3 separate regions of the Homo sapiens genome follow, and regions 2 and 3 are each linked to region 1. Evidence: promoter capture Hi-C in 16 types of primary human blood cells and fetal thymus (Javierre and others, 2016). All regions are on one chromosome and are shown on one strand. The core of a region is centred on a gene start or on the middle of the fragment in contact, and the rest is flanking DNA. Distances in the headings are between cores, read along the strand shown. Region 1 holds the start of PIK3IP1 (phosphoinositide-3-kinase interacting protein 1). Region 2 overlaps TBC1D10A (TBC1 domain family member 10A). Region 3 has its middle 13 kb from the start of MTFP1.

Region 1 (2,750 bases), core at 109-2,608:
ACGCGGCCGCCGCCCGCCAGCCCCGGGGCCGTCCCCCGGAGGACACTTACCCGACACGGGGGCCGAGGCCAGCCCGCTCTGCGCGTCCAGCCAGTTGAGGCAGCGGAGGCCCGGCGCGGGGGAGGTCTGGTCCTCCCGGTACAGGTGGCCGTTGTCCCAGAAACAGCCTGTGAGGAAAAGAAGCCCCCGGACACAGAATAGCGGGCAGCGAACGGAAGACGCCCAGCGTGGCGGACAGGGGAGCCGGGACCACCCGGGCTGAACCTCAGCCTGGTTAGGGGACCCCGGGCCCTGCTGGGCCTCCCTCTCCTCTCGTGGCAACACCCCCACGCCCCACGCACCCCCCCCCCCCAACTCCACGCACACCTCAGGGTGTGAAGCCCCCAGCCTGTGCCTGTCCCCCAGTCAACGCTCAGAGACTGTTAGGTTTTATTTATTTTTGAAACCTGGAAAGCGCTGCAGAAGTGCAAAGCGTTGTTACTCTTGAACTTGTGACCACTTTGGAGGAGGAGATGGAGAGGAGGAGGCCTGGCTTAGGGTCCCTTTGAGGAGCTGGGAGTTTTGGGACGGGGGGCGCCCAGACGTGACATTTGTCCCTGTGTTGTAATGGCCACGTTACATAAACTCCGGTGTTTCCTCCTTCACGGATACGGCCACCTTCTGCCCGTTTAAAAGGCAAATACTCCCTCCCAGGAGAATTCTCCAGGAGCCTTGACTCCGTCAGGCAAAAGATTCAAGACAGCCTCAAACGGAGGAAACCGGCCTCATCGCTGACTGGATGAGACTCCAAGCTCCCACTCCCCTCTGCAGGAGAACCACAGAAGGAGGCTGGGGAAGGAGGACCACACCATGCAAAGGGCTTAGAAAGAACAGGACTTGGGGAGTAGGGGAGATGAACCCCCAAGCTCCATCCACTCATGAGCAAGGAAAGGCAGAGAGAAAGTGGCTTCTTGCCTTTGTTCTTAATGGCAAAGATGGAGCTGCAAGCCCCTGACAAGGAAAGGAGGGGTGGAAAAGCTTTCACGGGACAACAGAAACCGGCTAAACGCTTCGTTTCCTGTCATCCTGGCCCTGTTTGGGAAATAGGGGGCTTTACCCCTTCTGTTTCATGAAGTTGCTGCGGAAAGGAAAGATTGTAATCTCACCTCCAGATCCATAGGCTTCTGCTAGGAGCATGTTGCTGACGAGGAATGCTTGTACCCAGGCCAACAGCATCCTTGCCTCCTTCGTCTTGCAGGTGATTGAACGACCAGTGTTTAACCGAGGCCCCCTTGGCGGCGGCTCTGCCTCCCAGTCCCAGCCTTGCAGTCAGACCTGCCCTTGTTATGCTGTTCTGGTAAACAGCCTCTCTTTAGAACTGGGAGCTTCCCAGCTAGCTTGCTGCAGCGCGAGCTGTTTTTCAGCTGAAAGGCGCCCCCTGGGTCCTAAGCCTCCTAGGTCATGCAAAATCTAACTGAGCCAAGAAAGGAACTCAGCCAAGAGATATGCAGGTTGTGCTTAGCAGCCGATCAGTTTGAGACCTGCGAGGCCGCATCCCCAGGGTTTTTCATCTCTTCTGTTTCCATTTGTGTGAGTACAGAAAAAATAATTCTATCAAGGGGCATCATGGGATGTGGGAAATTATAAGCACTAAAACACAGAACAACTTAGGGAGCTATGCACCCAGGAGGAATTCATGACCACATAGGGGGGAAAAAATAAGAGTTTCTGGTGGGGAGTGGAGTAATAGTTTTTTTTTTTTTCTTTTCTTTTCTTTTTGAGACAGAGTTTCACACTGTCGCCCGGGCTGGAGTGCAATGGCACAATCTCGGCTCACTGCAACCACCTGCCGGGTTCTCGCAATTCTGCCTCAGTCTCCGGAGTAGCTGGATTTTTTTTTTCCCTCACTCTATAGGAAATCCATTTGCTGTAATTTATATCCATCATTAAATCTCACCATATCCATTTGACTTAGGCCTTTTGGAGTTAGGCAGAAGGGCCCTTCTTCCTGTTTGGCTGACAGCTCCCAGGCAGCCTCAGTAAACTGAGAGAGAGAGCAGAGTGATTCGTCAAGACTACCTTGTGACAGGGGCACACCACCACAACCCAGCTAATTTTTTGTATTTTTAATAGAGACGGGGGTTTCACTGTGTTGGCCAGACTGGTCTTGAACTCCTGACCTCGTAATCCACCTGCCTCGGCCTCCCAAAGTGTTGGAATTACAGGTGTGAGCCACCGCGTTCGGCCGAGTAACACTTTATACCCATCCTTGAAAAAGAAAAAGGGCCTTTATGAACACTGACACTTAAAAAAAAAAAAAAAAAAAAAAAAAAAAAAAAACAGTGTAACTTGGCCAGGGTCAAATCTGTCACATTGCTTTTTCTTACATTTGAGGTTTTTTGGGGTGTTGTATATAGTAGGACTATAGAAGGAGTATCTTTAGTTGAAAACACATGTTATGCAAACATGGAAAAATTTGCTCAGCTACATTGTAATAGTCTACCCTTTCTGCCAGCCCTAAATTGTATAGAGGAATTTAAGTAAAATGTTTGCTTTTTTTTTTTTCCCTCACCCTATAGGAAATCCATTTGCTGTAATTTATATCCATCATTAAATCTCACCATATCCATTTGACTGAGGCCTTTTGGAGTAGGCAGAAGGGCCCTTCTTCCTGTTTGGCTGACAGCTCAAGTTCCCAGGCAGCCTCAGTAAACTGAGAGATAGAGCAGAGTGATTCGTCAAGACTACCTTGTGACTCAGTCAGATCCCAA
Region 2 (2,750 bases), core at 76-2,575, 980 kb before region 1:
AGGTTGTATGACTTGGACAAAGTCACAAAGCTAATAAGTAAGTAGCTGACCCAGGGCTTCCCCTCTGTCACAGTGACCTATATGCTATTTCCAGTTCCCTGGGGAAGGCTGTGGGGAAATCAGGCCCTTCTCCAGATGCTTCTGTGTGGCTCCATCTCTGGCGCCCAAGCCACTGGAGACAGTCTAACCCCCTCCTCCAGTGTTGTGACTGCCCCAGTGAGTGGCCTGCCCGTACCTAGCAATGCTCAGAGACACCAATACACTGGATGGGATGGTTTGCCAGCACAACCTCAGGTGCAGATGGTAAGCCTGGGTAATCTGCCATTTTTTTTTTTTTGAGACGGAGTCTTGCTCTGTCGCCCAGGCTGGAGTGCAGTGGCATGATCTCAGCTCACTGCAACCTCCACCTCCCGGGTTTAAGTGATTCTCTTGCTTCAGCATCCCAAGTAGCTGGGGCACCACCACACCCAGCTAATTTTTGTATTTTTAGTAGAGACGGGGTTTCACCATGTTGGCCAGGATGGTCTCAATCTCTTGACTATGTGATCCACCCGCCTCAGCCTCCCAAAGTGCTGGGATGACAGGCATGAGCCACCGCACCCGGCCAGGGCAATCTGCCATTTGCTGGCAACCCCAGCTTCTGAGGAGGAAAGGCTCAGAGGAGACAAAGGTGGCACCTAATCACAGATCTTGTCAGGCTCCTGGACTGGAACAGGCTTAGCCATGCTGTGCCACGTCATGGTCCAAGGCAGCAGTGACACTCTGCTGACCCCATTCTCTGTAGGTTCCCAGTTTCCTAGCGTTCTCCCAAAACCCAGAGGCTTGAGGCTTCCAAAAGTTCAGAAGGACAAGACTGCTTCCCAGGCTACTGAGACCAAGGGCTGGGGTTCTCTCTTCCCTTGTCCTTCTAGACATCTGCTTTCTGCCCAAGCACATCTCAGCACCTCTGGCTAGGCAGGTTCAGCAAGGGCAGTGTCCATGCTCATCACCTCCTTATCCTAGCCTGTCGTGGGAGATAAATCTTGATACCAAGGAACCCGTCTAAACCCTCCTCCAAGCCTCACTCCCTGAACCAGCCCAAACAAAGAGAAATACACCCTAAGCAGAAAGTCTGAGGTCACAGACCACAGGACTGATCCTCCTCTCACCCATAGGGGAAACCAGGTGGGGTGTAGGGGAGAATAAATAGAGTGGGGACTTGAAGTTAGCTGAGCTAGGTACTCCAGTTCTGCCATCTACTAACTGGGAGACCATGTGCAAAAAGTGACAACTTCTTCATCTTTCAGTGGGGTCATAACGCACACCTCATCTCTTATAGGGCTGCAATGAGGAATAAATGTGTACAAGGGCCCAGCCTGGTGGGTGGCCAGCAAATGGTAGCTATTAGGTGACTGGTATTTGCGGCTTAACTAGCAATTTCACATCTCTTTTCTCATCTGACTGGTCCCCATACACAGGCCTTTGAGGAAGGCAGGGCATGATTACCACCATTTTACTCATGAAGCAATTGAGGCTCTGAGAGATTACTTAATTTGCTCAATGGTAAACAAATTCTAACTCCTGGCCGCTGATCCAAGCTCTACCGCTTTACAGCTGTGTGAAACAGGGCTGGCTGCTTTGCTCTCTGAGCTTCCAGTTCCTCATCTGTAACCCAGGAGGAATGCCACCTCCTCAGAGAACATTGGTAAACATGATGTGAGGCAATTAAGAGCTGACACTTTCATGCGCTGGCCGTGTACTAGCTCTGCCAAGCACTACACAGGCACACAATCCCCCAAGGAAATAGCTTTAATTATCTCCATTTAATAGACAAGAACACTAAGATTCAGCACAGTGGAGTAATATGCCCAAGGTTACATAGCCTGGAAGTAGAGGCTGCCACCTGAGCACTAAACTATACAAGACATATAAAGTCCCCCGCTCATACCATGGCTTCAATCCCTGTCACATTCCCTTCCCTCTTCTTATCACCCTCTGTGCCGAGAAAGGCAGGGGTGAATAACGTGAAAAAAACCCCTCACACTTGGGTCTCCAGGATGGAGAGGAGGCAGTTGGAGGAAGTCCCACCAAAGTGTGGAAAATTGGGAAGTGGATGTGCAGGGGGAGCATGGCCAATCACCGATCCAGAGGGTTTCCCTCTCCACCCAGAGCCTGAAAGTGAAGTGAGGACAAACAAAAGGCTGACCTGTTTTGCATACTAGGCAACAACCTCTGGAGTTCACTACCCTAAGAGGTGGTAATGAATGAAGGTATAAATGGCTTTTAGACCAGTTCCATAAGAAGTGATGATGAGAAACCAAAGGCAGGAGAGGGTAGGCTGGTGGTGTGCAAATGGCTGTCAGGACTGGGAAACCTATGAGATCATGCAGTGAGGCCATCCCCTCCCCAGAAGGTAAGCGGTCTGCCTGACGCCACACACTCTGTGAGTTGGTAGGAAAAAGGAAGAGGGTCTGCAGCAGCCTGGCACTCCCTTCTGGGGCCCGGCCACCCCTGCCTAGGAGCCGGCTGGCAGTGTCCAGGCTCCCTGTCTGAGTGAGAGAGTCTGGCTTGCTTCACTCTCCCTCCTTCCCAATGCAGGCTAATTCTGGGGCTGCCTGTCTTTCCCATGAGGAATTCCCTGGCTCTGCTCCTTCTAGTGCTGGGTCAGTGCACAATGGTAAACAGGTTCTCTCCACCCTTCACTGGCCTTGGTGCCCTGGACCTCTGCCCAGCTCTCTACTCTGCTCAGCTCCACCCTACTCAGTGTGAGA
Region 3 (2,750 bases), core at 251-2,750, 850 kb before region 1:
TGTAGTTTACCACCATTCTTCTGACCCTCTTGCTAACCCAGAGGGTAGGTAGTGTGAACCAAAAGTATCTGAGACAGGTCTCAATCAATTTAGAAAGTTTATTTTTCCAAGGTTAAGGATGCACCTGTGACAGCCTCACCCTGATGCCATGTGCCCAAGATGGTTGGGGCACAGCTTGGTTTTATACACTTTAGGGAGACATGAGACATCGATCAATGTGTGTAAAATGTACATGGGTTTGGTCTGGAAAGGCAGGACAACTTGAAGTGGGGTGGGGGCTTCCAGGTCATGGGTCGATAAGAGATAAAAGTTTGTGTTCTTTTGGATCCTTATCAGCCTTTCACTGAATAACAATTTACATGTGAGCCGGGGTGGCGGGTAGAGGAATAGTCACTTATGCTTTAGTCTGGCTCAGTGAAGCTGCATTTTTACATAAACAATAAGGGCAGAGGAAGCAATCAGATGCATTTGTCTCAGGTGAGCAGAGGGATGACTTTGAGTTCTGTCCTTTGTCCTGCACCTGTGAAGATCAGCTATTCATTTACATTGCCAGGGTGAAATCCAACAGAACTGTTTTAGGGTAAAAATCTTGAGGCCTACAAGGAATTTCCTTGTGGGCAAAATGTGCATGAGGTATGTAGCTTTTTAATCCTTGTAGCTATCTTATTTAGGAATAAAATGGGAGGCAAGTTTGCCTGATGCAGTTCCCAGCTTGTCTTTTCCCTTTGGCTTAATGATTTTGAGGTCCCCAGATTTATTTCCCTTTCATAGTAGATAAACTGCTCCCCATTCCAGACTTACATTCTAAGAATCAGAGAAGGCAAGTGACCTGGCAAAGGCCTCCCAGCATATATGGTCACAGGTAAAACTCAAGCCTGGTCTGTTATTCCCTCCCCAAAACTGCCTGGTAGGGAGAAGGGAAAGCCAGCCTCAGCTGTGACTGACTCCTGGCTATCTGGAGCTCTCCCTCCAGATTCCTTTCTACCTCTCTGGCTGTCACCCCAGTGCTAAGAGCCTGGGCTCAGGCCCTCCTCTCTCTACCCTGGCTGCTCCCGCTCATTCCTGTGGCTTCTGTCCCCAGTACTCTAGCACCACATCTCCTATCTGTCCCCTCTAGACATATATCATGGTAGCAGCCTCTAGCTTGTTCCTCTCCAAATGTTCCCTCTGGCCAACCACTTCTTACAATGTTCAGAACAGAGTCCAGACCCTCACAGTGGCTCTCAGGGCCCTTGGTGATCTGGATAACGCCCCTATCATACACACCCTTCTCACTGCCCCACCCCAAATCTTCATTTCAGCCATTCTGTCCTTTTTGGGTCCTTAGATCTGGTGTTTCTCCTGCCCAGGCTTTCTCATATACTGTTCCCTCCTATTGGGACACTCCCTTCCATGCCTTTCCCCCAGCCCGTCCTGCAGGTTCACCAGCCCTACCCTGATTACAGCTCCCTCCTCCCTCAGTTCCTGCTCCCCAACCCAAGGTGACCTCTGACCCCCTCTAACTGGCTTAGGAAGCTCCTCTTGTAACCGCCAAGTGGGTTATCAAGGCAGGGGAATTGCAGTGGAGAAAGAGTTTAATTTATGCAGAAATGGCTGAACAGGAGACCAGAGTTGTTTTTTGTTTGTTTGTTTTGGTTTTTCTTTTGAGATGAAGGCTTGCTCTGTCGCCCAGGCTGGAGTGCAGTGGCGTGATCTCGGCTCACTGCAACCTCCTCCTCCCAGGTTCAACCCATTCTCCTGTCTCAACCTCCTAAGTAGCTGGGACTACAGGCATGCGCCACCAGGTCTGGCTAATTTTTGTATTTTTAGTAGAAATGGGGTTTCACCATGTTGGCCAGGCTGGTCTTGAACTCCTGACCTCAGGTGATCCTTCTGCCTTGACCTCCCAAAGTGCTGGGATTACAAGCAGGAGCCACTGAGACTGGAGTTTTTTTATTATTCAAATTAGTCTCTTGGAGCATTTAGGGGCTAGGGTTTTTCAAAGGTAGTTTAAGGGAAGGGTGGCGGGGGTGGCTAGGCAATGGGGCCTGCTGCTGACTGGTTGGGGGTGCAATGATAGGGGTGTGGGAAATGATCCTGTATGCTGAGTCACTTCTGGGTGAGGCCACAGGAGCAGTTGGCAGGTCCAGGTGGAACCATAGGTGTCAGACATACAAAAAGCCTGAAAAGATACCTCAAAAAAGCCCGGGCGTGATGGCTCACACCTGTAATCCCAGCACTTTGGGAAGCCGAGGTGGGTGGATCACCTGAGGTCAGGAGTTTGAGACCAGCCTGGCCAACATGGTGAAACCTTTGTCTCTACTAAAAATACAAAAGCTAGCTGGGCGTGGTGATGGGCATCTGTAATCCCAGCTACTCAGGAGGCTGAGGCAGGAGAATTGCTTGAACCCAGGAGGCGGAGGTTGCAGTGAGCCGAGATCGTGCCATTGAACTCCAGCCTGAGCGACGAGAGAGAAACTCTGTCTCAAAAAAGAAAAAAAAAAAGATACCTCAAAAGGCCAATCTTCACGAAGGGCCAGGGGTCCCACAGGTGAGTGGAGCCCCAGCAGCCCCCTCAGCTCTGCGTGCCCATGTACTGGTCTTCTCCCTGGCTCTATACTCAGTGTTCAAGGGGTTGCAGTGAGACGGGGCTTGGGCCGCGGAGCTGCGCCTGGCTTTGCTGCTCCACAAGGGCACCGTGGCTGTCAGCCTGTCCCTGCAACTGCTGCAGAGCCACGTAGGGTTACAGGTGGTGGCTGGCTGTGGGATCC

Evidence for each region. Contacts are between HindIII fragments. The CHiCAGO score rates a contact against its expected background, and 5 or more counts as called.
Region 2: a fragment that was not itself captured here is called in contact with the fragment with the promoter of PIK3IP1 in region 1 in 1 of 17 cell types (non-activated CD4 T cells); the score reaches 11.5 in non-activated CD4 T cells.
Region 3: a fragment that was not itself captured here is called in contact with the fragment with the promoter of PIK3IP1 in region 1 in 1 of 17 cell types (naive CD8 T cells); the score reaches 5.9 in naive CD8 T cells.

The regions. Positions count from the first base shown.
Region 1 is chr22:31,291,130-31,293,879 of GRCh38, forward strand. PIK3IP1 (phosphoinositide-3-kinase interacting protein 1) reads right to left here and starts at 1,359. Exons shown (of 6, transcript NM_052880.5): 1 at 1,146-1,359; 2 at 51-167. The coding sequence starts at 1,215. LOC105372997 (a long non-coding RNA gene) reads right to left here. Exons shown (of 4, transcript XR_001755493.3): 3 at 2,601-2,692; 4 at 1,815-2,023. RefSeq lists a silencer at 12-131 and an enhancer at 692-741. The HindIII fragment of the contact is 2,122 bases long and covers 1,016-2,750 here.
Region 2 is chr22:30,308,918-30,311,667 of GRCh38, forward strand. The region is part of intron 1 of TBC1D10A (TBC1 domain family member 10A); the gene reads right to left. Among named protein-coding and RNA genes, the nearest start is that of TBC1D10A, 17 kb to the right of the region's middle. RefSeq lists an enhancer at 999-1,048. The HindIII fragment of the contact is 5,585 bases long and covers 1-2,750 here.
Region 3 is chr22:30,437,331-30,440,080 of GRCh38, forward strand. It overlaps the pseudogene SLC39A1P1. Among named protein-coding and RNA genes, the nearest start is that of MTFP1, 13 kb to the left of the region's middle. The HindIII fragment of the contact is 3,153 bases long and covers 1-2,750 here.